Regions from separate parts of the Homo sapiens genome. Here all the other regions are linked to region 1. The links are contacts of gene promoters, found by promoter capture Hi-C in blood cells and fetal thymus (Javierre and others, 2016). All regions are on one chromosome and are shown on one strand. Each heading gives the region's core, a stretch centred on a gene start or on the middle of the fragment in contact. The rest is flanking DNA. Distances are from core to core; before and after follow the strand shown. Region 1 holds the start of RIOX2 (ribosomal oxygenase 2). Region 2 holds the start of SENP7 (SUMO specific peptidase 7). Region 3 holds the start of PCNP (PEST proteolytic signal containing nuclear protein). Region 4 overlaps ARL13B (ARF like GTPase 13B). Region 5 overlaps NSUN3 (NOP2/Sun RNA methyltransferase 3).

Region 1 (2,700 bases), core at 111-2,610:
AACAGATGGCCTGTGCAGAGGGGATTATTTTTCTGATTGCAGCTGTCACTTCAGGATTCAAGAGTATCGTAAAAGCTAAAAGGCACTTTAGACATCAGTAGTTATTACTAAATCGGGGAGGGAAGTATGAATTTCTACATCCCCTGGGCAGTTTTACAGAATGTAGTTCAGAGTTACCAGCAAGGTTGTTAGCATGCAAATTTCTGGGCCCTCATCAAGCCCACTGGATTGCCACTTCTGATGGCTGAGGCCCATAATCTGCATTAACGTAATACGCTCTCTAGATGAATTTTAGGTCCACTAATGGAGGACAACAGTCAAACGCAGCTCAGTTAAACACACGGCTGTCAGAAATTATATATTGCTTGTAACAAGGTTGCCCAGACTGATCTAAAACATTTCTTTTTGGCTCAGAGATATGTTAATCAATCCAGAGGGAAAACTGGTTCTCCTATTGACCTAAAGGAGTGATCAGCAGTTATCTTTTTAGTCTGATTTTAGAGAGGAAACGGACTATACCTCAATGTATTTTCGTGACCATGAGGTTACAAAGCTTGATGTCCAGGAGGCAAAAACCAGTACCAGCAGAAGAAGCTGAGTAAATCAGGTTCCTCTGCTCAAAGATGAGCCCAGTGACATGAAACCCGAGGCACCAGATTTACAGCTAATGAGTGGCGAAATCAGATCCTCTTCCTCCCAGTCTATCCTTCCTGAAAACAGTGAATAACCTGGTCTCAGTAACCTGTTGGACAACCCAGCTGTCGGCCAATCGTTGCGGAATTATTTGCTGGTAAATGAATTGGAAGCATATGATGTAATGCAGCTGCCCTTCTCCCCACACACCTGAACTTCAGATTTCACAGCTGTAGAGCGTGTCTCTTAGGCCCGACATGACGCCCGGCGGCGCAGCCCACGTGGAAGCCGTGCTCGCACAGGCAGTTCTGCCACCACCGGGCGGAGGCCGGCACCACCCTCCTTGCTAAGCCTCCAAACTTTCCGTGCGCTCGTCACCGGTGTCGCGACCATTAGCAGGCCACGTGTGCGACTCTCTGTAACCAAGGCTTCCGCGACCCTACCCCTAGATCCGGGCCCCACCCACCCTGCCCCAGTCTCCGGGGAGGTGGGACGCCTGGGAGCGCGTCCCAGGTCCCGCAACCACAGCGCCGGCCACCGAGGCTTCTCGCCGACCGACAGGTCTCCCAGACCCGCACCCGAGCCCGGGTGCCTAAAGCAGCAGCGCGCGCCCCGCGGGATCGGGCACTACCCGGCCTGCCCCGGCGCTGGGATGCCCACGAGAGCGCCCCACTCACCCGGCACGGCCTGTTGCTCGCGGCCGCGAGCCCACTGCGTTGCGGCGCAGCGGCTGGAGGCGGGGCAGCGTGGGCACGCTCCGGGCCGTGCTCCAGCCCCCGCCCCGCCCCGCCACGCCGGCCCGCAAGTGGTGGCAGCCCGGAGGCCTGGCTACCCGGCGGTGTTCCGCGTTCACGCCCGGGCGTTTCTTTAGTCCATATGGAAGGAAATAAATGGCCTTTTTTTTCCTCTTTTTTTTTTTTTTTTTTTTTTTTTTTTTTTTTTTATGGTATGTGAGACAAGGTCTCACTCTCGCCCAGGCTGGAGTGCAGTGGTAGCGATCTTGGCTCACTGCAACCTTTACCTCCCGGGCTCAAGCGATCCTCCTGCCTCGGCCTCCCAAAGTGCTGGATTATAGGTGTGAGCCACCCACCCGGCTCTCCTTTTTTTTCTTTTAACTTGGGGCGGCAGGAGAGGATTTGAGAGAGCGTTTTGGTGCAACTCCGTTCCTTTTATGAATAGAGAAGCAGGCCTGAAGAGGAATACCAGCGGTGCAAGTTTAGGGAGTTGGTGGTCCGGGTTCTCCCATGGCTTTCTTATGGGCTGTGTGGCTACACAATGCTGATTTGTACAAGCCGAGTGTCATTTATATCATCTCGCTCCGGGAGAGAGAGTCAATCCTAGTTTTAAAAGATACTGGAAATTCGTTGCGACTATGGCTATAGAAACAGAAGAAATGCAGTTATCTGAGTCCTTTCAGCCTAACACTCCCTGCTTTGGAACATTTGGTTCCAGTCAGGAGGCACAAATGAGGGAGCAGGGAAATCAGTGGCGGGCCTGTGCCTTTCTTTGCTCTGTAGACAGCCAGAGGACCCAGAGGAAGTCGACATTTCGTTCCGTCAAGGTGACTGAGACCAGTGGCTGCTTCTAAGGATCAAGTGGCACATGAACAAATGGGAACAAAGTACACCCTTGTCTAGTATTTGTCTAAAACTAACAATAATAGCAAGTCTTGAATTGAGTTCTTCCTGGCTATAAGGCACCACGCTAGGTGTTTCAAATACTCCTCACTTCATCCTCACTACAACCTTGCAATTACCTCCATTTTACAGTTGAGGAAACTGAGTCAGGAGAGGTTAACTAACTTGCACAAGATCACACAGCTAGGAAGATGCAGAAACAAGATTAGAGCCAAACCAGTCAGTCAACTGTTGGTCTTTTTCACGTTTTACTAATACTCGTATAACTAGTAAGTTTCCTGGCAGGTTCCAGTTGGAAAAACTCGAGGGTAACATCAAATTTAGCCCTTACAGGGTAAAAAAGAATAGTCAACAGCAAAAATCTCTAGTTGATATGATATTGGTAATGTACTTCGCTCTTTATTTTGACTGCAAGACATCTACTCAAGAT
Region 2 (2,700 bases), core at 83-2,582, 3.5 Mb after region 1:
TGCGATCTCGGCTCACTGCAAGCTCCGCCTCCCGGGTTCACGCCATTCTCCTGCCTCAGCCTCCTGAGTAGCTGGGACTACAGGCGCCCGCCACCACGCCCGGCTAATTTTTTGCATTTTTTAGTAGAGACGGGGTTTCACAATGTTAGCCAGGATGGTCTCGATCTCCTGACTTTGTGATCCGACCGCCTCGGCCTCCCAAGGTGTTGGCATTACAGGCGTGAGCCACCGCGCCCGGCCAATAAATCTGTAATTGTTAACTGTCTCTGCAGAAACCAACGGTACCATCAGAAACAGAAAAATGAAATGAAATAATTGATTCATTGGGCGTTCGTTTGTGTACTGGACTGTAAGCATATGAGTCCTCGTCCTCTCCTCCTACCATCCATAGGACTTAACACAAGGACTTGAGGACCCCCTAATGGATGAAATGTTTGATAAAAACTTCTCAACTGGGAGGAGCTCTACCTCACGTTTTTATAACTCCACTTTCTTGTTTCCAAGACGTTGTACACAAAACTGAAGATAGTCATTTAAAACAAAGTAACGTCCAAAACAAAAAATATGCTGAAAATAAAAACACAACGAAAGCACGGCTTCAAATCCTTTGTTTGACTTTCCAATCACTTTTGGAAGACGCAGGGTAGGCTGGAAAAGAAAAAGGCTATTAGGCGGGCCTGTTCAGCAGAACGAGACCCGGAGAGGCATTGTATCAAAGAAAAGGAGTCTCCGGTCGCAAGCCCCACCTTTCCTCCCCAGCAGCAGCTACCTGCTGAGGGAAAGAGGAGGGAGAGGGGAAGGGACGCAAAGTCGAGAATCAAAGGAAGAGAGGAAAGTGGGGTCAGGCGCTGAGAAGCCGAAATGAAATTGGAACATTGGTGGAATTACGAGGAAGGCGTGGCAGAGAGTGACAAGCCAACCGGGAAGATCCATGGGCCGATGAGACGCAAGGAGGGTGTTCGCGGGAGGAGGGAAAAAATAAAAGGGGTTTTGAGGTGAAGAGCGCCCGAGGCTTCGATGACAGCTCGGACCGGGTCTTCGACTCCAGGGGCGGGGGCGACCCGGGAGCCTTCCATTGTGCGCGCCCCTTCCTCTCCCCGCCCCCGCCCTCGCCCCCGCGGCTTCGGGCCGCAACCCCAGCTGCCGCCTGCGCCTCCCGTTTCCCCCGGGTAGGAGACAATATGTTCAGCCCTTCTCTGACCCTTTCTCACCGGATGAAGATGGCCGTCGCCCGAGCTTTCTCTTGTCCATCTTCTCCCGCTGCTGAAATTTCAGTTGCAGGCGCTGTCACCTCAGGACCCCTCCGGCTTGGAGAGGGAGGGGGAGGGGAAAGGAAAAAAAAAAAAAAAAAAAAAAAAAAAAAAAAGCCCGCAAAGTGCGAAGCGCGCTTGCGCAAGAGCCGTCGCCTGCCCTTCGACCGGAAATCAGCCGCCCCTCCCACCTTCGACCGGAAATCACTTCCTGGGACTTTTCACTGTGGGCTGCCTCTTCCAGCGTTTTTTTGGTGGCGTTTATTTCATGATCTGAGCCCCTCTGGGGAGGTGAACCACCTGGGTGCTCGATTTTAGCTTTGTTGACTTTGAAGATTAGATTGACAAAAATTAAAAGGGAAAAACAGGAACTCCTCCGGTTCACTGGATCTCGCGAGGTGGCCAAACAACTATGAAAACAAAACGTTAGCGTTTGCAGTATTACATCCCTCACAGCCTCTCTTACATATTTGCCCCCAACGCCTTTCCTCGAACTCAGAAACCAAAAGATTTTAAGATGGCAAAATCACCTAATAATAGCCTAGCTATTAGTTTAGCATTTGCTGTGGAAATATGTCAGCAGACGAGGAAAAATGTCTTAGGATTCCTTTTTAAAATTCGAACTTGTGATTTTTAAAGTTCCTTAAAAGAAAAGCTAGAACTTAATTTTTCAATAACTGAAATGCTGATATGACAGAAAGTGGGTGGCTATAAACTTGGAATTTGTTCAATTAACATTTACCACGATACTTAAGGGACTAATCCAGTCCTCAATGAACTCAAGGTCTGGTACTATTAGCCTGATTATCCCTAATGGTGCATATCTGAATAATTTTTAAATGCACGTGTAAGCTTTCATGACGATTTAATCACAAGTTTAACAAAATTCAGCACAGTGCTCTAAGCAGGGAAAATGTTTCTGGCATGTTCAAAGCCCGAAGGGACTCTGGAAGTAGGGTTTGATTCCCAAGCTGGCCCCTTTATACCCCTAACGCCTATCCCTCCAACCCCCATCTCCCATCCTAACGGAGTCAATAAAGGGATCGGCCCAACTCGTCCACTAGAGCAGTCCCCTTCATCGTGAGTTAAGCCTTCTTAATTATAATGTGGTCAGTCCCCAGGTAGAGGTAAGGCCCCAGGTGTTGTGGGGTGTTGGGCCTGGGGAAGTGTTCTACATGGCAGGAATGACTGCAAAGCAGAAATACTTTAAGTCTTGCTGGGATTGAAGTTTACTGTAAGGATTTCGTTTTATTTGGTTAATTTCTGTTTAACAAAAACATTGCTTTCTGAAAAATAATTGAATTTTCAGTTTCCTCACAAATTAACTTTTTTTTTTTTTTGAGACGGAGTCTCGCTCTGTCGCCCAGGCTGGAGTGCAGTGGCACAATCTCGGCTCGCTGCAAGCTTCACCTCCTGGGTTCACGCCATTCTCCTGCCTCAGCCTCCCGAG
Region 3 (2,700 bases), core at 178-2,677, 3.6 Mb after region 1:
TAGAAACGAGAGTCTCAATGATTACCTTGAAAAGATCACAAGGAAAATGAAACAAACATGAATTAAGTACCTGTAAGATAGTTTGCTGGTTACTTTTACATATATGATAAATGATGGATCAGGGACTTCAACCTAGATCACAAAATCACCACCACACTGCCCTGCTTCTGTCATGGGAAACACACTTTGATAATTTCTTCATTCTTTCTCCACTCCCTGGACTTGAAGCCCGAGAAGTAATCCATCCGCAAATATTGAACACTTTTTATATTCATATATGAAACGCACAGTACACAGTTTTTAAAAACTGGTCTCTGTTGTCAAGGAACTTTTGAGCCATTCAGAGAGACAACACTTAAAACACACACACACACACACACACACACAAACTGAGGGAAGTATGAAGTGACCAAATAATGGTATACAAAGATGATCTCATTTGATCCCTATTACCACTCTTTGAGGAGGTACTATTATTATTGCTCTTTTATAGAGAAGAAAAGGTAGCTCTGTAGGCAGTAAGCAAGTCTCAAGGTTACTCAAGCAGGAAAGGGCAAAACAGATTCAAATCCAAGTTCTGACTCCTAAGACTTTCTCTAACTATATATGGTAAGACAAACCCAGAAACTCCAGTTCCCTAAGCAAGTAATAGACCCCATTTGGCTAGGAGGGCTGGATAAATACTGAGAAAGGGGGAAGATGAAGCCGAAAAGGTAGGCTAGGGCCTAATGTAACTCACGGACTTCAGAATGCAGACTGTAGGAATCCACTAAAGGTTTCTTATTAAGGCAGAAATTACTGCAGTCTTAACTTGACATAGTAGTTTCTCAACTTGGTAGAAGCAGACTATACAAAAAGTAACTTTACAGTTGGCTACGTGACTTAGACAAATTACTCTCTCTGACCTCAACTCTTACAGGTAATTGAGAGGAGAATTCTATATTTGGACAATCGCCGTGATTAAACGAGTGTATGAAAGGCGTCTGAAGCTAGGGGGCGCTAGATAAACACTGATTTCCCCTTTAGGGAAAAAGAATGCAGGCTTTTTGTTTACATAGAGTTGGCAGGCATGCGTTATCCAGCAAGGCCGGAACGGAAGACACTCTCAGCCTCAGCTGCAACCACATCTGGGTATGCAGAAACCTTCTAAGATCCCAGCGTTTCCAGGGAGATGCTCCATTTCCCCTCACTTCTCCGGACCTGTCGCTAGACCATGAAGACCTGACTGCCCTCTAATAAAGTGCCTAGCCAGCACTCTTAGACCGCCCAACCTTCCCAGCTCTTCCTTCCGAGGCGGCTACTCGATGACATCACATCCACTTCCGCTTCCGAAGGCGGCCTCTTTTCATTCCTCGGGACCGCTCTAGGCTGCCACCACGCCGGCTGGCCCCAAAAACTCGATGGTTGTTGGGCGGGGTCGTGACGTCCTTGGCGTGGCTGCAGGGGAGGCCGCGGCGGGGAAAATGGCGGACGGGAAGGCGGGAGACGAGAAGCCTGAAAAGTCGCAGCGAGCTGGAGCCGCCGGAGGTGAACACAACCCCAGCGTCGTGGGCAGCGTGGGATGCTCCGGGCCTTTCTTTGAGCTCCCAGGGTGGGGGGAGTGGGGTGGGGCGAGAATGGGCGGATCTGGACCTCACCCGGCCAGGTGTTGGGCCCAGACCTGCCTCGGGCACGCCCGATGCGGCCCTCTGGGCTCCGGGCCTACATCGCCTCCTTGCCTGGGGAGAGCCGGCCACTGTTCGTCACCTCCTGGCCCCAGCGGAGGCCCTGATTCCGAGGAGAAGGGAGATGGGCGCCAGAAAGGGAGACCGAACTCGGGGTGGGACCAGGAGCGGCGGTGCAGGAGCCGCTACCGCCACACCGGAGACGCACATCACACAAAACACACACACCGGAGACGCTCATGAGACATAACATACACACAGTGCGAGCCACCGAGTAGTTGCCGCGGGAACTGGCCGCAGGCTGAGTTTCTGACGGTGCCGGCCTCTCAGTTACACGCAGGAGTTAATTACGCTTGCTGCTCCCTTTTCACTGAGGAGGTGGACAACTCCGGCCTGCTCTCTTTCCTTTACTTCCAAGTTTAATATTGACCCTGTGACAGGATGGGCCGAGGTGATGGAGGGGAAGAGGAATGCCTTTGCCTGCCCTCTGGTTTAAGCTGCGGGGTCTAGGGCTAAGGTTTGGTTGCTTTTCTTTGAAGTATCTCCCTTAGGCTGTTGCCAGCTGACCGCTTGCCAGATACTTAGGCGACTAAATAGTCTAGCGTGACTCTTCCTGTATTTTGTTACGACGTTAAACTCAGGTTACAGCTATCCTTATTCTGTCCATTCCACTCCCTAAATTCGGGTCTTGTGCGTGAAGGAAAAGAAACGTAATCTCTCCAGCTCCCTCTTTGCACATAACAAGACAAGTGACTTAACACGTGCGAGCTGTTTAAAATGTTTTTAGAACATTTTAAACATTATTCTCTATTCTGACCACCTTAGTTATCATTCCCGAAATTATTTAATATGAGAAAATAGAAACGATTAATAGCATATGAAGGCCACTAGTAGACCTACTAACATAATGTTTCATGTTAATTGCCTTGGGAACAAAAATTATTGAAAAGATTAAGTGTAATGTTAATTACTTTGGACCCAGGATTTCCTTTTTAAAAAACACGTACAATTCTGTTAGTTAAGCTGGAACTCCATC
Region 4 (2,700 bases), core at 16-2,515, 3.9 Mb before region 1:
GGTAAAAAGAAAACTAAGAAACTAAGAATGAAAAGGAACCACCGGGTAGAACCACTTAATATAGATGACTGTGCTCCTGAGAGTCCAACGCCACCCCCACCCCCTCCTCCTGGTGAGTAAATTGATACTGATACTGAATTTAGAAATATTGCTTTAAACAACAGAGAAAAAAAAAAAGAAAAAAGGAATCTTGTCATTTTTATTCTGTATATTCATTATCTTGTATACTTGTGAAGAAGAATCTTTTACTCTGATTTGGACAAAATTTGCTAACACAAATGTCCATTGCTTTTTTGAATAAAAAAATGTTTTATAAAGAAAAAAATAAGTAAAAACTATTAAGAAAATTTTACCCAGTATTTCCTAGAATATGTTCAAGTTCTATTTGAAATATCAGTACCCACATGTTAATTTAAGTTTCACGATGGATGGCTAACATGAGTTTTTAAAACATTGAACCGGCTCGGCATGGTGGCTGACACCTGTAATCCCAGCACTTTGTGAGGCCGAGGCGGGCAGATAACCAGGTGAAGAGTTCGAGATCAACCTGGCCAACTTGGTGAAACCCCGTCTCTACTAAAGATACAAAAAAAAAAAAAAAAAATTAGCTGGGCGTAGTAGCACATGCCTGTAATCCCAGCTACTCAGGAGGCTGGGGCAGGAGAATCGCTTGAACCTGGGATGGAGAAGTTGCAGTGAGCCAAGATCACTCCATTGCACTCCAGCCTGGGTGACAGGGTGAGACTCCATCTCGGGAAAAAAAAAAAAAAAAAAAAATTGGACCTTTCATCCTGAAAGTTAATGTTTGAAACCAAGATGTATTAATTTTTTCTAATACATTTTCAATATACATACCCATGTCCTAAGTTGTTACGAGGATTAAATGGAGTAATGCATATAAAACACTGGGACTTAACTTGCACAATAATTTTGAGTAACTTTTCAGCACTAAGCTTAGCACCTCACCTACTATAGGTGGTCAGTAAATATGTAATGACTAGATAAATATGTGTATAGTGCCCTTATAGCCCTGCTACAAGGCTTTAGAAATTATTTGGTAACATTTTAAGAATCTCTTATAGACTCATTTCCAGTATTCCATTTATTAAGAAAATATTTAGTTTCTGCCTAGAGTTAGAATGATAGCATGAGTTTGTTTTTGATAGTGGTGAAGGTGCTTATAGTTTTTATTAAAAGCTACTGAAAAGTTAAAGCAGATGTTAGCAGCCTATAATTACATTTTAAAATATAGAAGCCATTTAAAATGGGTTTCTGGCTTTCCATACTGTCATTCAATATATTTGAATTGACATTGAATGTTACATATGCTTCCTTTCCAGGGAGGGATCCTCTCAACAGACCTAAAGAAACCTTGTTTAACAGTGTTTTTTAAATGTTTTTCTTTTTCTTTAGTTGGCTGGGGAACCCCTAAAGTCACTAGACTTCCAAAACTTGAGCCTCTTGGTGAAACACATCATAATGGTAATGCAAAAGGATTGGTTTTCAGATATCATCTGTACATGTCACATTCACTTTTCTTTAGCCTTATAATTTCAACAAACTTATGTTTTAGTTTTAGAAGCTTGTCAAATCCACAGCTATCCTTTTTCATTATACGTCTTTTTTCATTTTATTTAATTTTTTATTCTTAAGTATGCTTTACATCTATATCATTTAATTTGGTGTTTACCTTAGAATACAGAGGTAAAAAGAATCATAGCTTGTGTTTATTATCCATGATATATTTATACAAGGAGTTATAATAAAAAGGAAATGTTTTAAAATAATTTAACTATGAGACATTAGAATTTATAACTTAAGTGTTAAAAGCTGTAGTTTCCTGTATATGCTCAATATACTCAATGATAATGGCACATAATTTTTTCTCTCTACTCCTAATAAGACAACCAGCTGCTGAACATTAAAGTGAAGTAAAGATCAACACAGTTTATAAAATCAGAGATCAAATCAGTAAACCTAATAAAGTTCGACTAAGTAGAAAGTTACTAACATTTTTATTGAATTAAGAGAACAGTTTTCTTTGAATATAACATACGCTATAGTCTAGATAGTTTATGGCATTAGAATTCTAGGATGCAAAAACTAGAGGAAGGATATTTAGGAGAAGTAGAGAACTGCCTTATAAAACAAGGAGAAGTTCTGATTACAGACCATCAGTCTAGGTCCCTTCAGTAAAATATTTCTAGAATGCAAAAGAATTATAGATAAATGTAGTTCAATAAACTTGTTTGTTAAGAACATCCAATTCCTTTTTGGACAGCTCTGTGTTTACCTAGTCTAGAACTTGGTTTCACTTACTAGGAAAAAACTCAGAAGTTTACTCTTTAGAAAAGCATTACCATATAATTTGAAATTATATCAAACCAGTTTAAATATTTTTGTTTAAAAGGTACTTAAATATAAATGTGCTATTTGCTTTTTTCCCCCAGAATTCTATTTAGGTCAGTATTGAAATATTTCTTGATAATCGTTAGTGAAAATTCATGAATTTTTTTTTTTTTAAAGACAGAAAAGTTTGTCCTTAGACTCCATCAGAATTACTGAAGTGGTATTTTCAGTGAAATCTCATCTCTCTGTTTAGTTTACTGACTTGACATCGTGATGTTTATATTGACTACAGTAGATTTATTTCTTTATTACACAACTCTTAGTGAACTTGTGTACGTTAGAATACATTGT
Region 5 (2,700 bases), core at 153-2,652, 3.9 Mb before region 1:
CAGCTGGAAGCTTCATGCTTTGAATTGTTGTGAATTCTGCACTATGAGTCTCTTCCTGTGATTGTTTTTAATCTGTATGCTTTCATTATAATAAACTGTGACTATAACTGTGATTATAACAGCTTTCAGTGAGTTCGGTTGTGTCCCAGTGAATAATCAAACCTGAGAGTCATCCTTGGAATCCCTGAACTTGTAATTGGTGTCAGAAGTGAGAGTTGTCTTTGAGACTCAACTACCCTGCCCCCTTTTAATTTGGATCTTTTTAAAAAAATTCTCTACTGCTGCCATTCACTTAGACCTTCCCAATCTCTTATCTGGCATATTGCAACAGCCATGTTTAGTACTTACCTGTTTGCTTATTTTAGCAACCACTTTTATGGCACTATGTACCAGTCAATGTTGTAATCACTTTATGAATAATAACAATCCTATGTACAACCCTCTGAAATAGTTATTTCCATTTATATATAGGAAAGCTGAGGCACACAGAGGTTAAGTAACTTGCCCAAGTATACACATCTCACACTTTAACTTGCCCAAGTATACACATCTAACACTTTGAAGAGCCTTGAGAGTTTGTTGTACCCACTCTGTCATGCTGTTTCTCGGTGCTACCAAATTCCATTGTGTCACACCTTGAGTACAAACCTTTGCTCCCCAGAAGTCTGCAGTATTATGTTTGGACTAAAAATCTTATCTTTCTGGGCAGGCTCCTTCATGCCTTTGGGACTGGCTATGCTGTTCTTCTGCTAGGAATGCCTTTTTCCCTTCTCCCTCTGTGCAGTAGTGTGGGTTCAAATCCCACCTCTGCATCTTGTAGCATATGACCTAGGTGAGTTAATATCTCTGTGCTCCATTGTCCTCGTCTGTAAAATGGGGAAAAAATAGTATCTATTTCATATAATCATTTGGGAAGATAAAATGAATTTGTGTATATACAATGTGAATGGAATGTTGTTTGACGTATAGTAAGGACTTCATATGCATTAGCATTATTTTTGTTACTATGATTAACCACTTCATCAAGCCTTCTGTATGTCCCTTGGCAAAATTAGTTTTGCCCTTCGTGTATCCATTGCATTTTGTTGATAGAGCTATTGTGATTCTTTCAAGGTTTTATCGTCATAATTTACTAACTTGCTTATCTTTTTCCTGACAAGGGAGGGTTTTGAAGAACCAATACCTTGAGACTTGGGCAAGTCTTCTGCTTATTCCCAGTTTTGTCAGTGTTTGTGTACTAGGCATTGTGCTAAGCACTGAGAATACAAAAATGGACTGTATATATCCTGCCCTCAAATACATGTATGATTAATTGGATAATTAATGGATACTTAATAAATGTATGATTAATATAAGCATTAATTAGAAATATTTATTAACTGTGGAAATTTTACATGTACTTTATAGAAAGCAAAACAAACAGACCATATAAGTCTGAACTGTCTGCAACATCTTTTTTTTTTTGGACACTCTCCTCACTGACCGAGAGTTCACATACAGAGAGGAAAAAAAAATACACACACACACACACACACACATACACACACACAACCTGATAATATTACCATAATCTGTGAAGGATGTAGACTGAGGTGGTTAAGAAAGAGAGAAATGAACCAGTATCTAGATTTCTATATTGTCCTATATGTTGGCTTTACACACATTTTCAGCCTTAATCTGTGCAAATCTCTGTGAAGAAGTAACTTTTAGACACTTTAAAGTCAGAGGTTAGAACAATTGATAGGTATCTTGTAGTTGTGGCAAATTCAGTCCTGTGACTTAAAAGTCCACGCCTTTTCCTATACCATCTGTGCTGCTGTGAAGGGTCCAGAGTTGCATCCTTCCAAATGTATGCTCAGATCCCGTAGTATGAAGGACTCTTATGTTCAGGATTTTTAGCCTTTTGATGTTCCACCAGAAACGCAAAGGATTTCCTATCTGAGGTACAGTGAATAACAAATCTGGACATAAATTGCCCTTCTGTGAGATACAAGGAAGATCCATTGCCAAAATAGAATAGGAAGCCATCAGCTCTTCGTTAGCATCTCTGAGGAGTAAAAATAAAATGACTCAAAAACATACTTTGGTGCATTTCCATAAATTGATTTGTTTTTCATTTCTAACTTTTAAAAGAGTTGAATGAGCACCCTCTAGTGGATAATAATAGCACTAAATCAAGGAATTTCTCTTTTTTAGCTATGGAAATTTAAATAGGTTCTGTAATCTACAGGGTTATATTAATTGTGTTTAACAATTTCTAGATTAAATGATATTTTTCATCTTCGTCACTAGGACGGAAGGTAGGGTGGAGAGTAGAGTAGTAGGAAAAAAGAATAAAGTCACAGAAAAGTTGAATGAAAATTATACTATCAAATAATAAACATTATCGAAATGATACATTATACAGTTTTGCAAAATTTTAACTTAACTAGCTTTTAATTTTTTAATGCTTTAATTTTGTTAAAATAGTAAGTAGTTCAGAGAGCCTTGAATCAGAACTCCAATTTTATTCATTTACTCCAGGATTTAGGCCCCAGGCACTTAGCCAAGGAGAAAAATAAGTCAAGGCTCCCATATAAATGAGTTAGGGAAATGGGTAAGCAGGCAGGGTGACACACAGTGTGATATATTAGTTTAGCTTCATTAACTGTTTCTCAAAATTCAGTTATTCTTGTGTACCATCTGTCTAGTTTTACTTAA

Evidence for each region. The method cuts DNA at HindIII sites, captures the fragments that hold promoters and counts their contacts. A CHiCAGO score of 5 or more calls a contact.
Region 2: a contact is called between the fragment with the promoter of SENP7 here and the fragment with the promoter of RIOX2 in region 1, in 1 of 17 cell types (activated CD4 T cells). The highest score is 5.1, in activated CD4 T cells.
Region 3: the fragment with the promoter of PCNP here is called in contact with the fragment with the promoter of RIOX2 in region 1 in 1 of 17 cell types (activated CD4 T cells); the score reaches 5.9 in activated CD4 T cells.
Region 4: a fragment that was not itself captured here is called in contact with the fragment with the promoter of RIOX2 in region 1 in 1 of 17 cell types (total B cells); the score reaches 7.1 in total B cells.
Region 5: a fragment that was not itself captured here is called in contact with the fragment with the promoter of RIOX2 in region 1 in 2 of 17 cell types (total B cells and activated CD4 T cells); the score reaches 7.1 in total B cells.

The regions. Positions count from the first base shown.
Region 1 is chr3:97,971,071-97,973,770 of GRCh38, forward strand. It overlaps RIOX2 (ribosomal oxygenase 2), which reads right to left and starts at 1,361. Exons shown (of 10, transcript NM_153182.4): 1 at 1,311-1,361. LOC124909398 (a long non-coding RNA gene) reads left to right here and starts at 1,583. Exons shown (of 2, transcript XR_007095976.1): 1 at 1,583-2,700. RefSeq lists an enhancer at 576-835 and a silencer at 1,106-1,545. The HindIII fragment of the contact is 3,966 bases long and covers 552-2,700 here.
Region 2 is chr3:101,511,880-101,514,579 of GRCh38, forward strand. SENP7 (SUMO specific peptidase 7) reads right to left here and starts at 1,333. Exons shown (of 24, transcript NM_020654.5): 1 at 1,212-1,333. The coding sequence starts at 1,251. The HindIII fragment of the contact is 4,750 bases long and covers 1-2,100 here.
Region 3 is chr3:101,572,753-101,575,452 of GRCh38, forward strand. It overlaps PCNP (PEST proteolytic signal containing nuclear protein), which reads left to right and starts at 1,428. Exons shown (of 5, transcript NM_020357.3): 1 at 1,428-1,527. The coding sequence starts at 1,464. RefSeq lists enhancers at 639-1,584, 1,028-1,297, 1,398-1,527, 1,608-1,767, 1,788-1,947. The HindIII fragment of the contact is 5,212 bases long and covers 1-2,700 here.
Region 4 is chr3:94,049,411-94,052,110 of GRCh38, forward strand. ARL13B (ARF like GTPase 13B) reads left to right here. Exons shown (of 10, transcript NM_001174150.2): 8 at 1-112; 9 at 1,414-1,482. Among named protein-coding and RNA genes, the nearest start is that of DHFR2, 12 kb to the right of the region's middle. The HindIII fragment of the contact is 629 bases long and covers 952-1,580 here.
Region 5 is chr3:94,067,271-94,069,970 of GRCh38, forward strand. All of the region lies in intron 2 of NSUN3 (NOP2/Sun RNA methyltransferase 3), which reads left to right. Among named protein-coding and RNA genes, the nearest start is that of NSUN3, 5.6 kb to the left of the region's middle. The HindIII fragment of the contact is 2,789 bases long and covers 9-2,700 here.